2 separate regions of the Homo sapiens genome follow, and region 1 is linked to region 2. The links are contacts of gene promoters, found by promoter capture Hi-C in blood cells and fetal thymus (Javierre and others, 2016). All regions are on one chromosome and are shown on one strand. Each heading gives the region's core, a stretch centred on a gene start or on the middle of the fragment in contact. The rest is flanking DNA. Distances are from core to core; before and after follow the strand shown. Region 1 overlaps VAV3 (vav guanine nucleotide exchange factor 3). Region 2 holds the start of NTNG1 (netrin G1).

What was found. Contacts are between HindIII fragments. The CHiCAGO score rates a contact against its expected background, and 5 or more counts as called.
Region 1: a contact is called between a fragment that was not itself captured here and the fragment with the promoter of NTNG1 in region 2, in 1 of 17 cell types (fetal thymus). The highest score is 11.5, in fetal thymus.

Annotation. Positions count from the first base shown.
Region 1 is chr1:107,749,670-107,753,625 of GRCh38, forward strand. It overlaps VAV3 (vav guanine nucleotide exchange factor 3), which reads right to left. Exons shown (of 27, transcript NM_006113.5): 13 at 1,448-1,533. Among named protein-coding and RNA genes, the nearest start is that of MIR7852, 150 kb to the right of the region's middle. The HindIII fragment of the contact is 2,583 bases long and covers 1,008-3,590 here.
Region 2 is chr1:107,138,736-107,142,814 of GRCh38, forward strand. It overlaps NTNG1 (netrin G1), which reads left to right and starts at 2,304. Exons shown (of 8, transcript NM_001113226.3): 1 at 2,304-2,405. RefSeq lists an enhancer at 1,944-2,475 and silencers at 2,409-2,698, 2,719-2,998. The HindIII fragment of the contact is 6,022 bases long and covers 1-4,004 here.

The DNA.
Region 1 (3,956 bases), core at 1,049-3,548, 610 kb after region 2:
AACCAAATGTTTTTTTCTTTGCATTAAAGACAACAGGTAGTATCATACACTGAAAACAACGGGGTATTTGAGGTTATAAGAACTGTGTGTGGAATTTCCCTTTACCTTGTAAATGGCCTCAGTGTGCTTTGGTTCCCTCATTTTAAAAATGGGCAAAAATCATAGTAAGAGTAAAATGCACACTGCAGAGTTGTTGAAAGGGCCAAGTGAGATAAGCCATAAAGTTTGTTCATGAGCAATTATCTTTTTTAATTTAAAAGCTAAAAACCTATAGAATAATATTAATGACATCCGTAGCAGCTTCTACTGAAGTTACTAGGAATCAGCCAGAATGCCTTGAGAAGTGTTCATCCCTTTCACAAACATGACTCAATTTAAATCCCCAAGACCACATGCTGGGAAGGTATCATTGCCATCTTCATTTTATTGAGGAGGAAACTGAGGCTTAGAGAAGTTAGATAATTTGCTCAAGATCACACTGCTAGTGAGGCATGTAACAGGATTCACAAACAGGTCTAATTTTGGAAACTGTGCTTTTACCCTCTATATTGTTCCTCATGATTTAATTGGCCACCTAAAAACCCAAACTGAATGGTATATGAGCCAAGTGTAAACTGAAAACGTTATGGTGAAATTTCCATGTTAATATTTCTTTTTTCTTATTAAGAACAACGTAACTTGGGGGAGAAAATAAACCTTATAACCACATCATCCAATACCAATACTTGTGTATTTTTATAAACTCTCAGTGATTAACACACATTTTTTTTATACACAATGATAATGACACATTCACAGGGCTGTAACACTTGCATCACTTTTAACGTCTATTTCTCCCAGAGAGGTTTAAAGGACCTATGGAGCCAGGGTTATCGAGGAAGAAGCAAGAGCTGATGCTGCCCCCTACTGGCTTTCGCTTCTCCAAAGATTCCAGAAAACAATCATTGTCAACCACAAAAACCTCTGTTTGATGATTACATATATACATAATTAAGGACTCCGGGCCAAGCTTACTAATCTTCAAGAACTACATCTGCAAATTTCCCTCAAGAAAATATTACTACGTGATTCTCACTTAATCTTCTTTCTTAGGGCATTTTTCTATTATTTTTGGTTATTTAAAAATATATTCCAAAAATTCAATTATGTTTTTATGGTAGTTATCTGTTCTTACTTTATCGCTCTTCTCATTTTAATGTATCCTAGCTGATCATCTATACTTGTTACTTCCTTCTTAATAACTTAGACAAACTAATAGATACCAGAACCCAGGTGGGAATACCTAAGATAATCTAGATTTAAAAAATTTAGAAATCATGGGTTGGTCTGTCTCCTTGTATTTCTTCCTTTTTTCCCCCTACTTCACACTGGAAAAATTGTCTTTAAGGTTTTCTCAGTTTTCTGACACTAATTACTTATTTTGAAAATAGTATTCTTCTTTTCTTACCTTTCTTGTTTGGTATGCTTGTCTAGAGTGGTTATTCGAATTTCACCATCTCCCTGAGGTCGTCCAAAAAGCAAAACTGGTTGGTTCTAAAATATAAAATGCACATGTCAGAGTTTTTCATAATCACATGAAAATAAAAACAAATATTAGTAGAGATATTTACTCAAGACAACTACCTTATTACATTAAAATGTTACCATTTTTTATACTTTTAAAGCATACTTACTCTAAAAAGCTCAGGTCTACATGACAAATAAGTCTGTCCTCTGTAATCCCAGGGGGTATGTCAAGGACATCAATTGATTTTAATTAGTATATATTCTTAAAGGGGAAATTAGCTATGAAAAGAAAGACTCAACCGGAAGGGTCCAAATTACGAGACGGTTCGGCAATTAATATTTTTTGAGCATCTACTACGTGCCAACCACCATAACAGGTGTACGGCAAAATGATACAGACACTGCCCTCATGAAGCACACTGCGCAGTGGAGGAACAAATATTCACAGAAGCATGCAATTACAAACGCACAATTGCCATGAAGGAGTACAGAAAGGGGCGGGGGGGCGCGCGCTAATTTGGTCTATAAAGTCCAGGCTGGCTTTCTTGAGCTAGGACCTCAAGGACGAAAAGCTCTGAGTTAATTATTTAAAATAATGAGCTATTTTCCCAGAGGCTGATAACTAAATTATTTTTAAGTGTTTATGAACACTTACTGTACACGCTAGAGGAAAAAAGAATTGACTGAAAATCACTAACGTTCAGAAATTCCATTTTAATAAAGGGCAGAGATGTGTGATTAACACTATAAATATAAAAATAAATGTATCTTATCAAAATCCCAGTGATGTTTTCTGCACAAATAGAAAATTCCATTCTAAAATTCTTATGGAATCTCAAGGGATTCTGAATAGTCAAAACAATCTTGAAAAGGAACAAAGCTGGAAGTCTCATACTTACTGACTTGTTTCCAAAACTTATTGCAAAGCCACAATAATCAAAATCATGCGGCACTGGCATACAAACAGGTATATAGACCAACAGAATAGTAGAGAGCCCAGAAATAAGTCCTCACATATATGGTCAAATGATTTCCAACAAGGTTAACACCATTAAATAGGGAAAGAATAGCCTTTTCAACAAATGGTGCTGGGAAAACTGGATATCCACATGTAAAAGAATAAAGGTAGACCCTTCATTACCTTACACCATAAATAAAGAATAACTAAAAATGTTTCAAATACCCAAACATAACAGTTAAAACTATAAAACTTTTACAAGAAAATGGGGAAAAACTTTATGACAATAGATTCAGCAATTATTTCTTCGAGATTGATAAATGGGACTTTGTCAAAATTAAAAACTTTTGTGCCTCACAGACAATATCAACAGAGTGAAAAGCCAACAGACACAAGAAAAGTATTTGCAAACCATATGTCTTATAAGGGATTGATATCTGGGATACAAATAAAGAGCTTCTACAACACAAAGACAAAAAACAACTTGATTCAAAAATGGGCAAAGCATTTGAATAGGCATTTTTCCAAAGAGAATATACAAATGGCCAGCAAACACACAAAGACAATATTCAACATCATTAGTCATTAAGAAAATGCAAATCAAACCCACGATGAGATATTGCTTTAAAACCATTAAGATGGCTGTTACCCAAACAAACCGAATAGTGAGTGTTGGTAAGGATGTGGAAAAACTGAAACCCTTGTGCATTGGTAGTAGGAAAGTTAAGTGGGGCAGCTGCTGTGGAAAATGGTATAGCAATTCTTCAATAAATTAACATAATGACCATACAACCCAGAATTCCACTTCCAAGTATATAACTAAAAGAAGTGAAAGCAGGCACTTGAATAGATATTGGTACACCTGTGACAATAATAATATAACAGTATTATTCACAATAGCTGAAAGAAGGAAGCAACCCAAATGTTCATCAATGAAAAACAGTGAGGTATTTATATAAAATGATGTATTATTCAGCTTTAAACAAATGGAAATCAAAAAAATAAAATGTTGACACATGACTACTACAAGGATGAACTTTGAAGACATTATGCTAAGTAAAAAAAGCCAGTCATGAAATGGCAAATATTGTATGATTTCACTTATATAAGGTGCCCAGAGTAGTTAAGCTTACAGAGATAGAAAGTAGATTGGTAGTTTCCAGGGGCCAGGGAAAGAGAAGAATGGGAAGTTCATGTTTAATGAGTACAGAGTTTCAGTTTTGCAAGATGAAGTTTTGGAGACGGTCACACAACATCATGAATGCACTTCTAATTTGAAAATAATTAGAATGGCAAATTAATGCTATATATATTTATAGCATTAATGTGTGTGTGTATGTATGTGTGTGTGTATATATATACACACATATATATACACACATATATATATATACGTATATATATATATATATATATACACACACACACTTTTTTTTTTGAGACAGAGTCAGAGTCTCGCTCTGTTGCCTAGGCTGCAGTGCAGTGGCATGAT
Region 2 (4,079 bases), core at 1,054-3,553:
AAGAAGGCCACTCTTGGTATTGTTTATTATATCCTATTGCAAAGGGCTCCCATAGAAAGAACTGGGATCTAAGGGCCTGTGAAGGAGGATTAGGTGGTGAGTAACATCTCCATATAGTCAGTATGTTTTAAACCTGGAGGAGCATGGCTAGAGACAGGGGGAAGAGCCAGACTTGGCCACTGTCTAAGAACCCTTGGTAGGAGTTTCAGCCCTGCAGGTAACTCTTTTTTGCAATGTCAGCACTACAGGACAAAGGTGGGAAAGAGGAAAGCACATGAATCCCAGATTCCTGCACTCAGAGATTCCGAAGGCGACTTATTGTGGCCTCTTAGGTGTTAGAGGGAAGGCTGGGGGTGCCTGAAATCCCTGCCCACTTCCTGGCTGCCCAGGGCCAAGGAGGGCCTGGTTATAGGCCCAACTCAACAAACTTCTCCCCCATCCATCCTTTTACCACACCACCCCCAGTCATCACAGAAAAATGACCCAATTACTCAGCCTCCTGCCTTAATTGTGGGACACATAGTGACTAAGTGTTCACAATTGCCCATTTCTTCCACCCCCCCCCCACCCGCCACTTTGCCTTGACCAAACATGAGTCAGGCTTCTCTCCAGCAGGTCCCTGGAATTTAGCTTGCCCCCCAAATCTGAGCAAGAACTAAAATGTGAAACATTCACCATTGTTAGCTTATCTTCCAAATTCTTGGACCACAGAGACACATTTCTTGTTCAACCAAGAGGGTCTTGAAGTGAGTTGTTTCCCCCATCCACTTGGCTTTGCCTATTGCTTGCTCCCCCTTATATATATAGAAAAAAAAGGCCGATTTCTGTTTGGTTTTGAGAGGTTTGCAGATTTCTGAGATCAGAGCGTTTTCCCTGTTGCAATAGTCTTTCTTTCTAATGGAAGTCTCCCTATCTTATCTAAATTCGGATTTGTTTCTGTTTGACGTTAATGTGTAGCTAAGAGTGATCCCAGGTGAGTCTGAGCCCGCCTTGGTGGGGAATGAAGCCTGGAGCATCGGAGCATTTGTCTTTCTCTTAGAAAAGGCAAGGAAGCCTGAAATGCGCAGCTCTCCCTTGAACTTCAACTTTTTAAAGGGGAATGAATTTCTAAAGGAGGAGTTTCCAGTCTAGGGCTGTAGGGGCCTCCGGGCAAAGGAAGTGCTTGTTGAAAAACAACATTGTGATCACTTCCAGCGGCGAAGGGTGTGCTTGGGAACGGTTTGGGGAGGGGACAGAAGAGAGAGGGGTGGGATGGACGGCGGCAGAAGTGGGAGGTACACGAGGAGTTACTGGAAACGGCGCTTCTGTGGAGGAGCCGGGGGGGATGGGGAGTAGAGGGAGGGGGCCCTGTTGCCTCAGCGCCCCGAGGTCGTGGAGCGGCAGCAGCTGCAGCCGGAGCAGCACCAGCAACAGCAACAGCGAGCGGGACGGAGTTAGGACCGCTCGGAGCGCACAGGTCTCGAGGTAGTATAAGGTTTGCTATCCTTCCACTTGCTGGCAGTTGCAGAAGAAGATCTGCTTTTTAAGTGAAACGTACATGCCACCCCTCCGAGGGCTGCGGCTTCCCCGGGCTTGCTTCTTTGCCGCTCCTCTTTCCGGCTCTCGCGCTCACTCTTTAATTGGCACTGGCCCCTAAGTTTGCCAGGAGCTCGCTGCCCGCTCGGAGCAGGGTCCCGGCCGGGAGCCGCTGGTGGGGGCGGGGAGTCCGGGAGCCGCAATCCAGAAGCGTCGTGGGCCATGTATATTTCATCAAACGGACTTTGGGTGCGTCGCGTCTCACTGCCATCAGTGCTATGTGCAGTGACATTTCTGACTTGAGTGGAGGAATGCGCGAAGGAAACCCGGGCGAAATTGGTATTAGAGGATCTTCTTGGCGCCAATGCTAATTGTCCTGATTTATGCCCCTTCTGACTAAGCTCAACGTCTTCATCTGAAATAAAATGAAAGCGGTGCCAAGCGGCATAGAACCGCCTGGCCGCTGGTTCTGATCCCCGGGAACCAGAAAATCGTCCTGCGGCTTGAAAAAAAAAAAAAGAGGAAAAAAAAAAGAAATAGAAATAGAAAAAAGAAAAAATATCCCTCAGTAAAAGTTTAAGGCGAGAAGTGTCAGAGGCAGCGGAGCGAGGAGGCGCGGAGGAGAGCCGGCGAGCAGGGGACTGGGCTGGCACGACCTCCGAAGGCTGAGATCTCATTATTAATATCACTATATTTTTGGAGGGAGAGGCACCTTTCTCATCCTCTCTTCCTCTCCGCCCACCCTTACTCCCTCCCCCTCATCTACCTGTCAAAGTCACTGATCTTTTGCATTTCGGAAGAGGACGTCAACGGGAAGGAATTCCCCCTCTGGGTGCGGGCTCCGAGAGGGGGCGACTTGCAGGAGGCTCCCCCCGGGGGCGGAGGCGAAGGTAATTAAGCGGCGGGGAGTGGCGGGCCGGCGCTGGGTTCTCGGTCCTCGGGGTCCTCTCCCGCCGGCGGCCGGGCGCGATCGGAATCCCCGGGCTGCGGCGGTGGCGGCGGCTCGGGTCCTCACGCCCACCCCTCCCGCTCCGCCCGCTCCCGCCTGGGGAGGAGGCTCCGCGGGAGCTGCCGCCCTCCGCCCGTACGCCGCCCGCGGGCTCCGCTGCTGCGGCCGCCGCCCGAGGCGGACCAGGCTGGCTGCGCAGGGCCGCCGCCCCGCGCCGTCGGCTCGGCTCCCGCCCGGCGCAAGGGCAAACGAGCCACACGGTAAGTGCCTGCGGCTCGCCTCTCCTACTGCGACCCGAGCCTCTCGCCCGTGCCCCTCTCCCCCGGGTTTCCCCACCCCCCGCCGCCCCCCGCCCCACCCGCTGCGATGCACAGGCGGGAGGGAAGGCTCCGGGTGGGCGAGGAACTTTGTAAAGCGCCCCGAGGAGGCAGCGCGCGGAGCCCTACGCGCACACACAGCGGCACACGCTCACACCCACACACAAGTCTTCCCGGGGGTGCGCCCCGGGCCGGTGATGCGTCCTCTTGTTGTGTCCGGAGCCCAGGCGTGGGGTCTGAGCCTCCATCCGCCGACTGACAGGGGCCCCGCGCTCTCCCTCTCTCACGCACACCTGGCCACACACATCGCTCAGGCGGCTTGTCGTTATTTTTTCTTTCTTTCGCCAATTATATTTGTTTGGGGAAAAGCAAACAAAAAAAACAAAAAAACACTTGCCCTATTGCCGGCCTTGGGGATCTGGTGGCCACATCGAGAGCTTTTGAAGTCCCTTCTTTTAATCGCCTTTATTGGTGCTAGATTAAAACATTACTATCCCATGTTGTGCAGCTGGGGAGAAAGGGAAATTGAAAGAGGAAGACTTGGTGTAGGGATGCTGTTTGGAATATTCTCTCATATTCTTTACTGGCATCATATTAATCGGTTGATGGATTCGGCTAGGGACACTGAATTGCACTCCTGTATGGATCTGTGGATATCTATATATAATACAAATAATACTGAATATTATTGGGCCTAAAATAACCAATTAAGTGATTCATACAAGGAAAAACTTAGATATAAAAAGAAACTGCGCCCTCTGCTGTTAATTTTAGTACCCTCACCCGGGGACTTTTTTTTTTTTTCCTTCAGAAATCCACTTAAGAGTAGGCTGTCATCTTACAGGGCAAGGGAAGAAAATTCCTAGCGGGGATTTTAAAGCAACTTTACTTGGAAAAGTCGCAGGTTGAGCTCCTATAGTTGCATCAGGTACAGATTTCCAGTGAGTAGACGGTCCTCCTCTCTCACCCATTCTTCTCTTTATACAGGGAATAATGGAGCCACTCCTCATAACAAATTGTCAATCTTTGGAATGGAAAATTCTGAGTAAGATTCAGAACTCCACTAAACATATGGTGAATCTGGCAGTAGAATTGCTCTAGAAATAAGGCCCTGTTTTATGACTGAAAATACTAAAAGTTGTTTTATCTTACAGAAATGAAAAAAAAAAAAACCCAGGAAGATCTTCCATTAAAATCACTTATTCAGATATGCTTAGTAGTTAAGCTTGTTGGAAAGTTTTCCAAAAAATAATTTTTTTTTTTTTCAGGGGAGGCTTTTCTGTTTTGTTTGTCCCTTG